Linked DNA regions of Homo sapiens: regions 2 and 3 are each linked to region 1. The links are contacts of gene promoters, found by promoter capture Hi-C in blood cells and fetal thymus (Javierre and others, 2016). All regions are on one chromosome and are shown on one strand. Each heading gives the region's core, a stretch centred on a gene start or on the middle of the fragment in contact. The rest is flanking DNA. Distances are from core to core; before and after follow the strand shown. Region 1 holds the start of STARD3NL (STARD3 N-terminal like). Region 2 holds the start of EPDR1 (ependymin related 1). Region 3 overlaps SFRP4 (secreted frizzled related protein 4).

The links. Contacts are between HindIII fragments. The CHiCAGO score rates a contact against its expected background, and 5 or more counts as called.
Region 2: a fragment that was not itself captured here is called in contact with the fragment with the promoter of STARD3NL in region 1 in 1 of 17 cell types (megakaryocytes); the score reaches 5.4 in megakaryocytes.
Region 3: a fragment that was not itself captured here is called in contact with the fragment with the promoter of STARD3NL in region 1 in 1 of 17 cell types (megakaryocytes); the score reaches 5.3 in megakaryocytes.

What each region holds. Positions count from the first base shown.
Region 1 is chr7:38,176,870-38,181,068 of GRCh38, forward strand. STARD3NL (STARD3 N-terminal like) reads left to right here and starts at 1,376. Exons shown (of 9, transcript NM_032016.4): 1 at 1,376-1,551. RefSeq lists an enhancer at 1,023-1,102 and a silencer at 1,353-1,632. The HindIII fragment of the contact is 5,243 bases long and covers 581-4,199 here.
Region 2 is chr7:37,919,605-37,923,883 of GRCh38, forward strand. It overlaps EPDR1 (ependymin related 1), which reads left to right and starts at 1,036. Exons shown (of 3, transcript NM_017549.5): 1 at 1,036-1,604. The coding sequence starts at 1,336. RefSeq lists a silencer at 1,281-1,730. The HindIII fragment of the contact is 5,102 bases long and covers 1-4,163 here.
Region 3 is chr7:37,902,615-37,906,596 of GRCh38, forward strand. It overlaps SFRP4 (secreted frizzled related protein 4), which reads right to left. Exons shown (of 6, transcript NM_003014.4): 6 at 3,318-3,982. Among named protein-coding and RNA genes, the nearest start is that of SFRP4, 12 kb to the right of the region's middle. The HindIII fragment of the contact is 5,001 bases long and covers 1-3,964 here.

The DNA.
Region 1 (4,199 bases), core at 126-2,625:
CTTATGATTATTACACTTATTTTGTATATGTGTTATGCTTTAAAAGGTTTTCACATCTATCAGTTTATAAAATTTTTTTAAATTGTATTTTATCAGTATTGGCGAGGATACAGGGAAAAATTGCTCAAATACTAGCAGTGGGAATGTAAGTTAAAACAACTACTCAGGGGAGCAAATCAGTGAAATCTATTAAGGATTTACATCGTGCAAACTCTGTGATCCAGTACATTCTCTTGTTGGTATCTGCACTCTAGAGAAATACTTGGACCTAAGTACAAAAAGGCATCTACATATATATTTATGGTACCATTGCTTCTCATAATAATATTAATAAACAAACGTGAGGGTGGGGGAATGGTACATTAATTATGTATGTATATATATACACATATTGGTTCTGAGGACATGCAGCATTTTCAGAGAATGAGGTAGATTTATATACAGATATGGAAAGATTTCAATGCTAAGTGTAAAAAAGTAACATCTACACTTGCAAATGCACAGGAACTAGGAGTCATCATCTACAGACTGGGTTTGTAATTAGGGCCTAAAAGGGATATAAGCATAATTGTAACGTTTAAGCTTTTTTTTTTTTTCGCATGGACAAAATCTTACTTGTGTAATTTAAAATTAATAACGGTACTTAGAATGACTTTGGAAAAATATACAAATAATGAAATGGGGATCCAAAGAATGTTCACTGTATACCTCTGTACTTCTAAAAATGTGAATAAGTGTAGCATCCGTTGGGAGAAAAGTTTAATTAAATTTTAAATAAAACAATAAAAGGTGCCTAACTTCGTGTGAAAACAGACATATAGATATAATTAAATGTGACTACCGCTTAGAGATGTTAGTTATGAACTAGGAGCGCTGAGAAAAGGTATCCTAAATAGGTCTGGGGGAAGTGAGAGTTAGAAGAGGTGACTCTTGAGCTGAGTACCGACATAGAAATGGTATGCCCTGTTTTTATTCCTGGAGGGCTCAGCATGAGGTGCCCAAGAGGCCCTGAAACCCATTTCCATGACATTTTCCCACGAGCTGGAGCATAAACCCCCACCGAATAACTGAAGGGAAGCGGAAGGCGCAGAAACGCGGACGAAGAGGAAGCGGGCGCTTGTTAAACCGTGCGATGCACAATGCGGGAAAGTCCAACCAGCTCCGTGTTTCAAAGCTGGATGCCCAGATTTCCCACCCATTCCTACAGGCAGACCGGCTCGCCCTCTCCCTCCTTCCCGCGTCGTTTACTGGTCAGTAGAAGATTGACATGTCATCTGGCCAATAGGTTGGCTCCTCTATGGAGGCACTCAGGAACCAGTCGGGTCTTTGGTCCCTCGAGCGAGATGCGAGCTGTGTGCGTCGACGTCAGCGTGCTGACGTCACGGGCCGGAGGTCCCGGGGCTGCTGGGTGCGGGCGGTGGGCTGCGCGTTGTCCGCTGGACTGGGTCCCGGTCACGCCCCGCCAAGCCCCGCCCCTCAGGCCGGGGCGCGACCGCGGATCCGCAGTTCCCGGGCCAGCCTGGGGCGGCCGGCCAGGAACCACCCGTTAAGGTAGGCTGGGTTTCTCGTTCCCCTATTTGACAGGTTGGAAAACTGAGTCTCCTGGGTCAGATGACTTACATGGGGGCGTACAGGGGACCCGCGGACGGAGGCCATATCCTGGTCCTGTTCTGTTTCCTGAGTCCTGCGCGAGCCTCCAGGGGAGGAGGAGGGGCGAGGCAGGCTGTGCTCATAATGGACACAAGAGTGAAGTTGCAGAATGCTGAGCCCCGCTGCTCCCACGGCGTGGGCCGGGATTCAGGGATGGATATAGGTAGCGGGAGTGTCCTCATTCCTCCAGCCTGCGGACCCTGAGGAGTCCCCGGTGGGGTCGGCCCCGGGCTGGCGCCATGGGCCCCCAAGAAGGACCAAGAATTGGTGACTGGGTGTAATGCGTGGGTTGTCCAGACACAGGCGGTTGTGAGTCTCTTCTATTCATTGAGAAAAGTCGTGTTCAAAAAAAAAAAAAAGAAAGAAAGCACGAATCATGAATGTTCTCCCTGTGGTTTCAGTTAACTGCTTCACCTACTCGTAGATATCTCGCCATTGTTTGAAATCTTAGTTGCTTGAATACTTTTGATTTAGGGTTAGGGATTTTTCCCCCTCTCTTTTAGTTCAAACATGGGTGGACATTGTGGAACTTTTCTTTGTTCACTGTGTCATTTGTCTTCTATTTCACAGATGGAATCACTGAATTCATCACTTGACACAGTACTAGTTTGGATAAGTTTAGCAAGGTAACCAAGTAACGGGTCTAATTAAATCTTTACTGGAATTAGTCCAGTTTGCCACATTTCCTTGTTAGGAAGAATTCTGAAAGGTAATTCCCGTCTGTATACCATATCTACCCATACGCCTCTTTCTAGAAGCAGGATCTCACAAAACGACTTATGGTATCCTTGTTTTATTGATGGATTCTGATAAGGTGGTGGATTATTCATGTTCATAAAATGAAAACATACAATATGTTGTCGTGTAGAAGTCACTGTCTTTAAAATCTAACTGTCTCAAACATTGGTCTTTTAAAACTGCATTATTGCATTGCCTAAAACTGCATGAAAGAAATGAAATGAAACAGCCTCTGAGGGATATTACCTTACTTATGTTCACAGAAGGATGGTGATTAACATCATTTGGATTTATTCAATGGACAGTTTGCCTGAGTGATTGTCTATGCCACTCATTGTTTTAGGTTTTAGAGATTGAGTAGTGAGCAATTTAGATAAGGCCCATACCCTCAAAGACTTTAACTTTTGTTGGAGAATATAATAAACATGTAAATCAAAGAGACAAGTTTAGATAGGAATAAATGTCAGAAAAGATACTACTGGGTAGAGAGTTTGAGAGTGACTGGGTTGTATGGAGAAATGGGATGGTCAGGGAAGACCTCCCTAAGGAGGTAACACGAGGTGACATTTTGGGTGATAGCTGAATGTTTAGCTGAGTCAGCCATGAGAAAATGGGCTGGAAGTTTCTAGGCAGATATAAACAGTGTAAAGGAGCTAAAGGAAGAATGAACTTGGCATGTTCCAGGGACAGAGGGAAGCCCGTGTGGCTGGAGCTGAGTGAACCTAGGGGAGGGTGAGGTGAGGAGACAGTGGTCAGAGGTGACACTGGAGAGGTGTACAGGGATTGGATCATCTTGTATCCCATGTGAGCCTTACAGGCAGGCAAGGGAAAGATAATTTGTGTACTGCAGAGTCTTGTTTTCTTTTAGTGATACTCATAAACTCTAGCCAACTTTCTGCTTTGTTTTGGTTATGAAATCATTGCAGTAATTTATTGTGTATATATTTTTTCTCCAGAGGCCCTCTTAATGAAAAGATCTTGTTTCCTTCAGCACCTTATCCGATGTAGTTTGTTTCCTTTCCATTGTTATATGCAGAACTCAAAGTCTTTGCTTTTTCTTAAGCTCCCTGCTTTTAATCCTTTCTACTTCCAACCGTGAATACTCTTTCTTATTACCTGTACCTGCCTTCCACTTGGAAAGCAGTGGCAGTTGGTCCCTGCTCTTCTCCAAGCCAAATTCTAGGAAGCTGCATTGGCAAGTGGATTATTGTTCTTCATTAGAGCTTGTATTACTGACCAGGAACATAACGCTTGCCTTTTTTTAGTACCTACGATATGCCAGGTATGTTACATACATTCTATTCCTTCCAACTTGTGGCAAAGGAAAATATTAAGCCTTTTTGATAGTGAGGGAAACTTACACTTCAGCTACTGAGCTAGTACTGATGGAGCTTGTATTTGAACTCCCATTAGGTTTACTTCAAAGCCTAATTCATTCTACCCCACCTCCTGTTAACCTCCAACCTTGCTACCCTGAGCAGCAAGTCTCTATTACTTAAAATTATGTTTTATGATGTGGCATTTTAGAGATCACATGATTCACCCCTCTTAGTTTAGAGCTAGGGCTGTGGAGGCCCAGAGAAGGTCAGTGAGTTTTAAAATAATGCATCTAATGGCCAAACTTCTATCAAATTTTCACCCTGCTCATTTTCAGGCTAGTGTTTTTTCTGCTTTATTTTCTTCATGAAAGTCCCCTATCAATATATTTCTGTACATATAAAAATATAATATTTCAACAGCATGAATTTATTGTCCATAAACTTGTAAAAGTTAATTTTAAAGAGATGAGACATTGCTTCTTCTTGGGCTAC
Region 2 (4,279 bases), core at 363-2,862, 260 kb before region 1:
GCCCTACCCTTTCTGTTGTCTAAGTGGGCTTTCTAAAGCATATGCCTGATGATGCTCCTCCCTAGCTTTACATTGATTGATAGTTCCCACAGTCCTCAATATCAATGACAAATTCCTTAAAATGAGTGCTATGGCTTCAGAGTACTCCTCTACCTTGTCCTTGAACCCCAGCATTATTCTTTTCTTGTCCTTATGCCCTTCATTCAGGAATGTTATCTCCCACTTTCACCTGGCTCAATCTTAATCATCCTTGAAATGCAGTTCAAATGGAAAGACGCTATACATTTTTTTAGTTCCTTTCTTTTTTCTTGATTTCATACTTTATCACTATATTTTTAGAGACAGGGTCTCGCCATGTCACCCAGGCTGGATGGAGTGCAGTGGCATGATCATAGCTCACTGCAACCTCTAACTCCTGGGCTCAAGCGATCCTCCCACTTCAGCCTCAGGAGTAGCTGGGACTACAGGTGTGTGAGCCTCGCTCATTCCATATTATAGATCCTAACATTACATAACTATAAACCCAATTAACCTTATTCTTGAAGAAGCGAAACCCCCCAGACACCCAAACCACTCGGCTGGTGGTATTGCCAGGCGATGGGAGGAGCAGTCTCACTGCAATGTGACCTTGAGGCTATGTCCATGAGTCCTAGGCCCAATGCAAGGGGCTGTCTACTAGTCTCCTAGACTCTTCACTGGGAATGGGAGCTGAGGAGCGGCCATGATGAATAGCTAGTATCATTTCTTCAGGAAAAGACTCGTCTTTCCACTTTTAATTTGGAGGAAGAAGTTTGCAATTTTGTCGAGGGGCAATGTAGGCGGGGCAAACGTTTGCACAGCAAACGCAGCAGCTCTGCTTTTCCTATCTTGACCTTGAACTTGCCCCTCCCTGTGTGATTACCTGTTGAACACTGAAGTTAGTGGAGAAACACACTTCTCAGCACAGTCTCCCCCCATCCCCCCTCTTAAAACACGATGCCTCCCAGGATGCTAGTGGCACCACTGCCACTGCATTTCCTGTTGGCAGCAGTGAGCAGTGAAAACCGAAGCGGCAGAAGGCAGTGGCAGCAGGCAGTGGCAGCAGGCAGTGGCCCAGGCAGAAATAGCTCCCGCGCGATTCACTGGAGCCTTCCCCGGGCCCTGGTCCCGGCTACCGGGACTCGCGCGTCCGGATCTCAAAAGCGGCAGAGGCCACCGAAGGGACAGGAAGCACTTTGGTCCAGACCACACTCCCGGCACAGTGCGGAAAGAGCCGGCGGGAGCCACTCTGATCCCGGACGCCTCAGCGCCCCCTTGGGCTTGGGCTTGCCCTCGGGCCGGGGAAGGCTGACCGCGATGCCAGGACGCGCTCCCCTCCGCACCGTCCCGGGCGCCCTGGGTGCCTGGCTGCTGGGCGGCCTCTGGGCCTGGACCCTGTGCGGCCTGTGCAGCCTGGGGGCGGTGGGAGCCCCGCGCCCGTGCCAGGCGCCGCAGCAGTGGGAGGGGCGCCAGGTTATGTACCAGCAAAGTAGCGGGCGCAACAGCCGCGCCCTGCTCTCCTACGACGGGCTCAACCAGCGCGTGCGGGTGCTGGACGAGAGGAAGGCGCTGATCCCCTGCAAGAGGTACAGGTCATCGGCCCGCGGGGCGGGAGTAGGGAGCCGCGCGGGCATGGGGAGGGCGAGGTCGCAGAGGCCTGCGCCCTGTAACTCTTTCCGGCCCCTTGCAGCTCCTCCCTTCTCCCAGAGAGATCTTTCGCGAGGAGGGTCTCTTGGGGATAGCATGGTCCGGGACTGGGAGGGGCGCTGCGCCCACCGAGGGCGGCCTGCTGGCGGGGGACTCAGTAACACCCAGCGAGGCGGTGGCAGGTAAAGAAGGGACCCATCCAGGGCGGGATCAAGCTGCAGAGTGCCCCATGCCCAGGTTCGCCCCTGTTCTCACGCTGCTGAGTCAGGCTCTGGGCTCATGGAGCCCCCTGCAGTCTAGGGCGTGTCTTCTGCGCTATCTCATTTCTTTCTAGAGACATCTGCTAGAGAGGCACGCAGAATATGTATTTTCTAAGAAATACTTTTTGTATTTTAAAAGAATATGGCAAGATTACAAACGGTATGGGAAAGTGATAAAAAGAAAATTTCACCCACAAACTTAGCAAATTGTTACAGCATTAAAATTTTGGTCTACTCCTTTTAAGTTTTTTGTTTATTTTAAAGCAAATTTTACATACTATGATCAAAAGCCATACGTTATCTGAATCTTTTTTTAACTTAACATTGTCCCTTATATGTTCTTATTTGCCATTTTATTAGCTTGCCTCCTATTTTTAATGGCTGCACAGTATCGCTTACAGGGGCAAAGCTGTAAGTTTCTTTTAAGTATTGGTCTGACCATTCACCTTTTCACATCTGTTGTGACAAAGGAAACCCTCTTTTTGAGATGTCATCTCGCTTGTGGCCCCTTTAAGACCTGATTTCTAATTTGGGATCACCACCTGTCTCCCTTCCAGAGCCCTGCCGTTCCCCCTAAGTGTGTTCCTCTCACTGGCCTCTCTTTATGGCATTTGCATCATTAGGAGTTGCAAAGTGAATTTCCATGGTTTGAAACGCCAATGGACTGTAAGATCTATAGCAAAAGGGCACCATTAGTTTATAGAACAAAACCAAACTTGATAATATCATTTATTCTAAAAGCATTTGTTCAAGTATTAGGCGACTTGAAGAAAGTACGGAAAGGGCAGACCCTTTCAAACAATATCAAGGGTGCAAAATAATGCATTATGAAATGCAGCACAGAGCAGCACAGTCATCATGGTGGACTGGGAATTGATTCGAAGTCTTTCAAGAACATGAATGTTTTCAGTAGGGTCTTGAAGGGCACAGTAATAATAATAACAACTAACAGTTGCATACTTATTATATATGAGGCATGACACTGAGGACTTTACATCTATTATATAATTTAGTTTAAATCTCACAATAACTTGACAGTATAGGTTTTATGATCTCCATTTTACAGACAATAACTCTGAGGTCTAGGGAGATTAAGCAACTTTCTTAAGATCACACAGCTAATGCTTGAGGAAGCTAGGGGGGGGTTCTGACGCCTATGGTATACCAGGTTCACATTCATTCATTTATTTAACAAGCATTTGTTCATGTTAGGCACTGTGTATAAACAGAATGGCTCCTGGCTTTCAGGGAGGTCAGAGTCTGGAGGTGAAGTCACATAAATAAAAAAAATTTCCATACAGTGGGATGAGGGGTGAGAGCTGGGGTTGTGATGAGAAGAACTCAGTTGGGCACCTAACCCAGGCTTCCTGGAGGAGCTGAAATGAGAGTGAGTTCCAAAACACCTGTACAGGTTTTCCAGGGAGATGTGGAGAGACTGCTGGTCCAGGGGGATGCAGGTGTATCCATGCCTGGTATGTGTGTGCCATCCCGGAGTTTTTAGAGCTGAGTAAATTCCAAAAACCACAGACCACTCACTATTAGGGCTGAAGCCCAGGACATGGCGAAGGGTCATACTGAGGAGTTTTAAACAGTGGAATTTGTGATTAGATTATATAAAGATCCCTGGATGTGTCCTTAAGAATGCATTCCCAAGATGTGGACACAAAATGGAGCCATGTGGAGCAAAAGTGGAAGTGAGAACACAATCTTGGAGATTGTCGTAGTGGTCCAGGTGAGAGATGGGTAGTAGCGATGGAAATGGTGAACAGGGGGCAAGTGAATGCATTAGGGAAGTATTGAAGAGGTTCAACTGAGGAAAATGTACATGATTGGACGGGTTGTGGCAGGCGTGGTGAGGGAGAGGAAAACGTTAAAGAGGCCCCCATTTTTGGCTTGTGAAGCTAATGGTACTGATGGCATAGGGTAGATGGTGATGCTGTTCCTTGCAACAGGGCTTGACTTTGTGCACTTCTAATTAAGGGTGCATTGGTATCCTATGTAATTTTATGTGAAGACTTGTACAGTAGTGGCGCATTGATGAATAGTCATATTGAAGATGGACTGGGATGGCCGAGAGCACACTGCTGAAGCAGAGGAGTGTGTCAAAGAGAAGGATAAGGGTTCATCTCTCCAAAGGTAGTATTTTTTTTTTTACAATTAAAAAAATTAGACTTTAGAGTCAGACAAATCTGGATCTGAATCCAGACTCTGAATATGGGTCTTTGGGTAAGTTAATAAAGCTTTCTGAGTCTCAGTATCCTCATTTACAAAATGTGAATACTTATAATGCCTAATTTATTGGATTATTATGGGAATTAAATGAGCTCAAGTGTATAAAACATACAGTACAATGT
Region 3 (3,982 bases), core at 214-2,713, 270 kb before region 1:
CTTTGCACCTTGTTATATTATTCAAGTTCTTATAATGTTATGAGATTTAGGAATAGTCCTCTGATTATATGCCCTCCCTGTTAGCTGAATATAATTGTTAATAAACAATTTAATTGTTTTCCCTTTTCATAATATGTCATTTAAGTGAGCCATACTGGCCATTAGAAAGTTGTTCTCATTGAGATACTGCAGCTGCATGTTTTAGTTATAAAATTTTTCTCATACAAATATCACAACTAAATATATTAGACTTAGGCTGTAAAGGCAAAATTACACACCATGGCTTTGTTCTTGACATTAATTACCTCTTTACAAATATTTTCTTACATTCCAGTAGACAGAAATTTCTCTCAGGTAGCAAAGCAAATAAATACTGTAAGTTCTGTAGTGGTGATCAACATATTCTTTCTTTAATAAATTCGAAAAGAAAAAGACATGAAAAAGCATGAAGACAAAAGTCGAAGGCTTAGGGATTAAATAGTGTATGGCTGCCAGTTACAGAAATTGACAGAGACATTCTGTTGCTTGACACTACTTTATAGTTTGTGCTGGAAAAGTATGGTGGTCAAACTTTAATATTTTTATGATTGTCATAGTGTGATGAGTATGAGAATGTGAATCACAACCTCCAATTGCAGGGGCCATATTGACAAGGGTTCTAGCTCTGCACCCTGAAATTCACTGTCACCTTTGCAGCAAGACCACACTACCTATGGGTTGCTCCCAGTCAGTGACTGAGCACAACAGGATACTTAGAGCTATCCCTGGGAGAAGAGGGACTCCTTTGACAGATGACTGGCTCAAGACTCCCAAGTAACCTTGCCAAACTTTCCTTAGACTTTACAGCAGTCTGGAATGCTTCTACCCAACCTTTCTTCTCTCTTCCCTCTCTCCTTCACTCAGGGTGGACATCCATTGTGCTCTGACAGCTCTCCCAGCCCTACCCAGATCCCTCCCCATTCTCTCTCACAGGCGTTTTGCACATTTAATTCTGTTTTGGCATTTGCTTCTCTGAGGACCCAGATGAAAACACATATGATCAAGGGAATAGTTTTCAAATTAGCATGTCTAAATGTCTTTAAATCAAACTACATTCTATATATATACCTGTCTGATAATATTTTTGTAGTATCTGATAGTTATAAAAGTAACACATGTTCATTAGACAAAATATAGAAAACCTTTATGGCTTACACTCTTTTTTTTTTTTTTTTGAGACTGAGTCTCGCTCTGTCACCTAGGCTGGAGTACAATAGCGTGATCTTGGCTCACTGCAATCTCCACCTCCCTGGCTCAAGAGATTCTCCTGCCTCAGCCTCCCAAGTAGGTGGGACTACAGGCGCCCGCCACCACGCCTAATCTTTTGTATTTTTGGTAGAGACGGGGTTTCACCATGTTAGCCAGGATGGTCTCGATCTGACCTTGTGATCCACCCGCCTCAGCCTCCCAAAGTGCTGGGATTACAGGTGTGAGCCACTGCGCCCAGCCTATGCTTTGCACTCTCTTATGGCAACATTTTTTATGGTCTTTAGTATTCAATAATGAAGGAAAGTTATTTGTGTCACAAACACCTATCCTACACTGACATGACTTGGGAACCACATTCAAAAGTCCATTTTCACAAATTATTGGTAAAATAAACTCTGATACATCCAAGCTATGCAACTGTCCAATATAAACCTACTGTTGCATTCTTTAGTGGAGCAATTTTCATGCTGCCTTATTAAGTTCATACACCAAAACAGGAGGAAAACCCAGAAGGATTCACACCAAAATGCTAGTTTTGACATTTTGAGTAGCTACTTTGATATTTTGGGTCTTTTTGTTTTATTTCATGTTTTTGCTTATTTCTGTTCTTTGAATAATAAGGGGGGATATTCCATTGCTATCCAAGGGTTCAGCGTCTTCTTTGGGGTACTTTAAATTAAAGTAGATGCTCTATCTTGGGTACTTCATTCATCTGGAGAACATGGCATGCTTCCTTATCAGTTAAATCACAGAGTTGACAATTAATTGATATTATGGCTAATAATATCAGTTAATTACTGATATACTGTTGGGTGGTATGCCTCTCACTATGATGTAATACATCTTTCAGTGTAAACTGCTTTTCAAAAGTATTTTCCAATAGGAAATATGGTCAGCATTAGCATAAATCAGACTATAACAAGAAGCAGAAATTTGTTATCCTGTTGCTCTTTCTATGGTGATAAATAAATAGTCCCTCTAGCAGCCCAGATTTATGTTACCAAGAAGTCAGTGGACTTTGGACTGGTAAATCAAAATTCAGGAAATTTGAGGGCCCAGATCTGCCTCTAGCTATGTGCAAGAAATCAGACAAACTTATACAACCTTTCTCCAACAAGCGAGGTTATGACTTCTGAGGTCTTATTCAACCTTTTCATTCCATGATTCCAAACAATCATTCTTGCTCTTTGAATGGTAATAATAGCAGGTACATCCTTGCAGTAAAAATGTGCTCTTCTTTTTCACTCAGGGACTGGTTACCCCAACCAGAAACACCCTCAAGCTAGTAAGGGGTTTTGCTGTAAGAATGCGATAGACCATCTTATAGGTATCCAAGGAGAGAAACCAAAAGTGTGATCAGACTGCATTGGTTTAGAGCTGAAAAGTAAGAACTAAGGCTATTTATGTAAGTTCTCATGTATCTTAAAAGAAGTCTAGACAGAGAGCATCTATTGGCAACTCTGCTATACTCTAATTCTTCAGTTCCTGTAGTTAACCAGTTATATTATTAAGTTTGATTTGTTAAAAAAATAGAGAAGGTTGCATAGGCTTTTCCAGCAGTTAAGAAATCTGTCTATCTATCTATCTATCTATCTATCTATCTATCTATCTATCTATCTATCTATCATCTATCTATCTATCTGTCTGTCTGTCTGTCTATCTATCCATCCATCTATCTTTCTATCCATCTATCTATCAATCATCTATCAAGCCATCTATTTATCTCTATACTTTGAGGGGCTCAAATCACTATTTCCCAGCTGCCAGGAGTGTAGGAAGTGCTGAGAATGTTGTCAGCTGATGGTTCACAGACGAAGGGAGGAGCTTTGCCCAAGGTGGCCACCAGTTCCAACTTTACATTTTTAATCAATATGGGGAAGGAGAAATAATCTTAGTGAGGGTTTCCATACACCATACACTTAGTGAGCATTTCCATACATGGATGGTCCAAGCATTCTGGGGCGTAACTGACAAGATCAAGAACTTTCCTTGCTGAGCATACTCCTTGGCCCGAAAATGCTATTTAAACAAATGTATCCCAAGGTACTAATGAAGGATGTGCACAGATGTTTGACTATTGAGATGTTTATTCAGTATTGTCAGTGAAGAAACCACCTAAGTATCCAATAGCACAACAGTTTGTTGAGTAATGCATACTATGGAATATAACACAGCTGTTAGAAATGAGATGGTTTCTGCTTTCTTGACAGGAAAACTTATCTCAATAAAGGGCCAAGCAAAGGAGGCAGGTTATGAAACACATGTATAGCAGGTTCCTAGTTTTATTTGTTCAAATCATTTTATAAGTGCATAAGAAACACCTGGAGAATAATATGCCAAAATACTAATAGTGATTACCTCTGTGTAGTGGAGAGTAGGATTAGATAGGATTTTATTTCCTTTGGGCGTTGTGCATTTATTGAATGCCTTATAGAGAATACATGCTTACTGTGTTAGCAAAAGGCCAATAAAATTGTTTTTTAAAATAAATGCCTCCAATTGTCCACAATTATGAAATTTGTTGATAAAATGCTGCAAGATAAGTTCTTTTTTTCTGATTAAAGTATCCCAACTGTCAAGTAATTCTCATTTCAGAGGTGGAACCTCAACTTTCCTCTCTGTACATTTATATTTAACTCCTCTCACATGTATTTAGGCAAAGAAAATATTTAAATGAAGAAAACAAAATTTGGCACTCACATGAAGGCCATTTTTAAGCTTGTCAAATTATTCT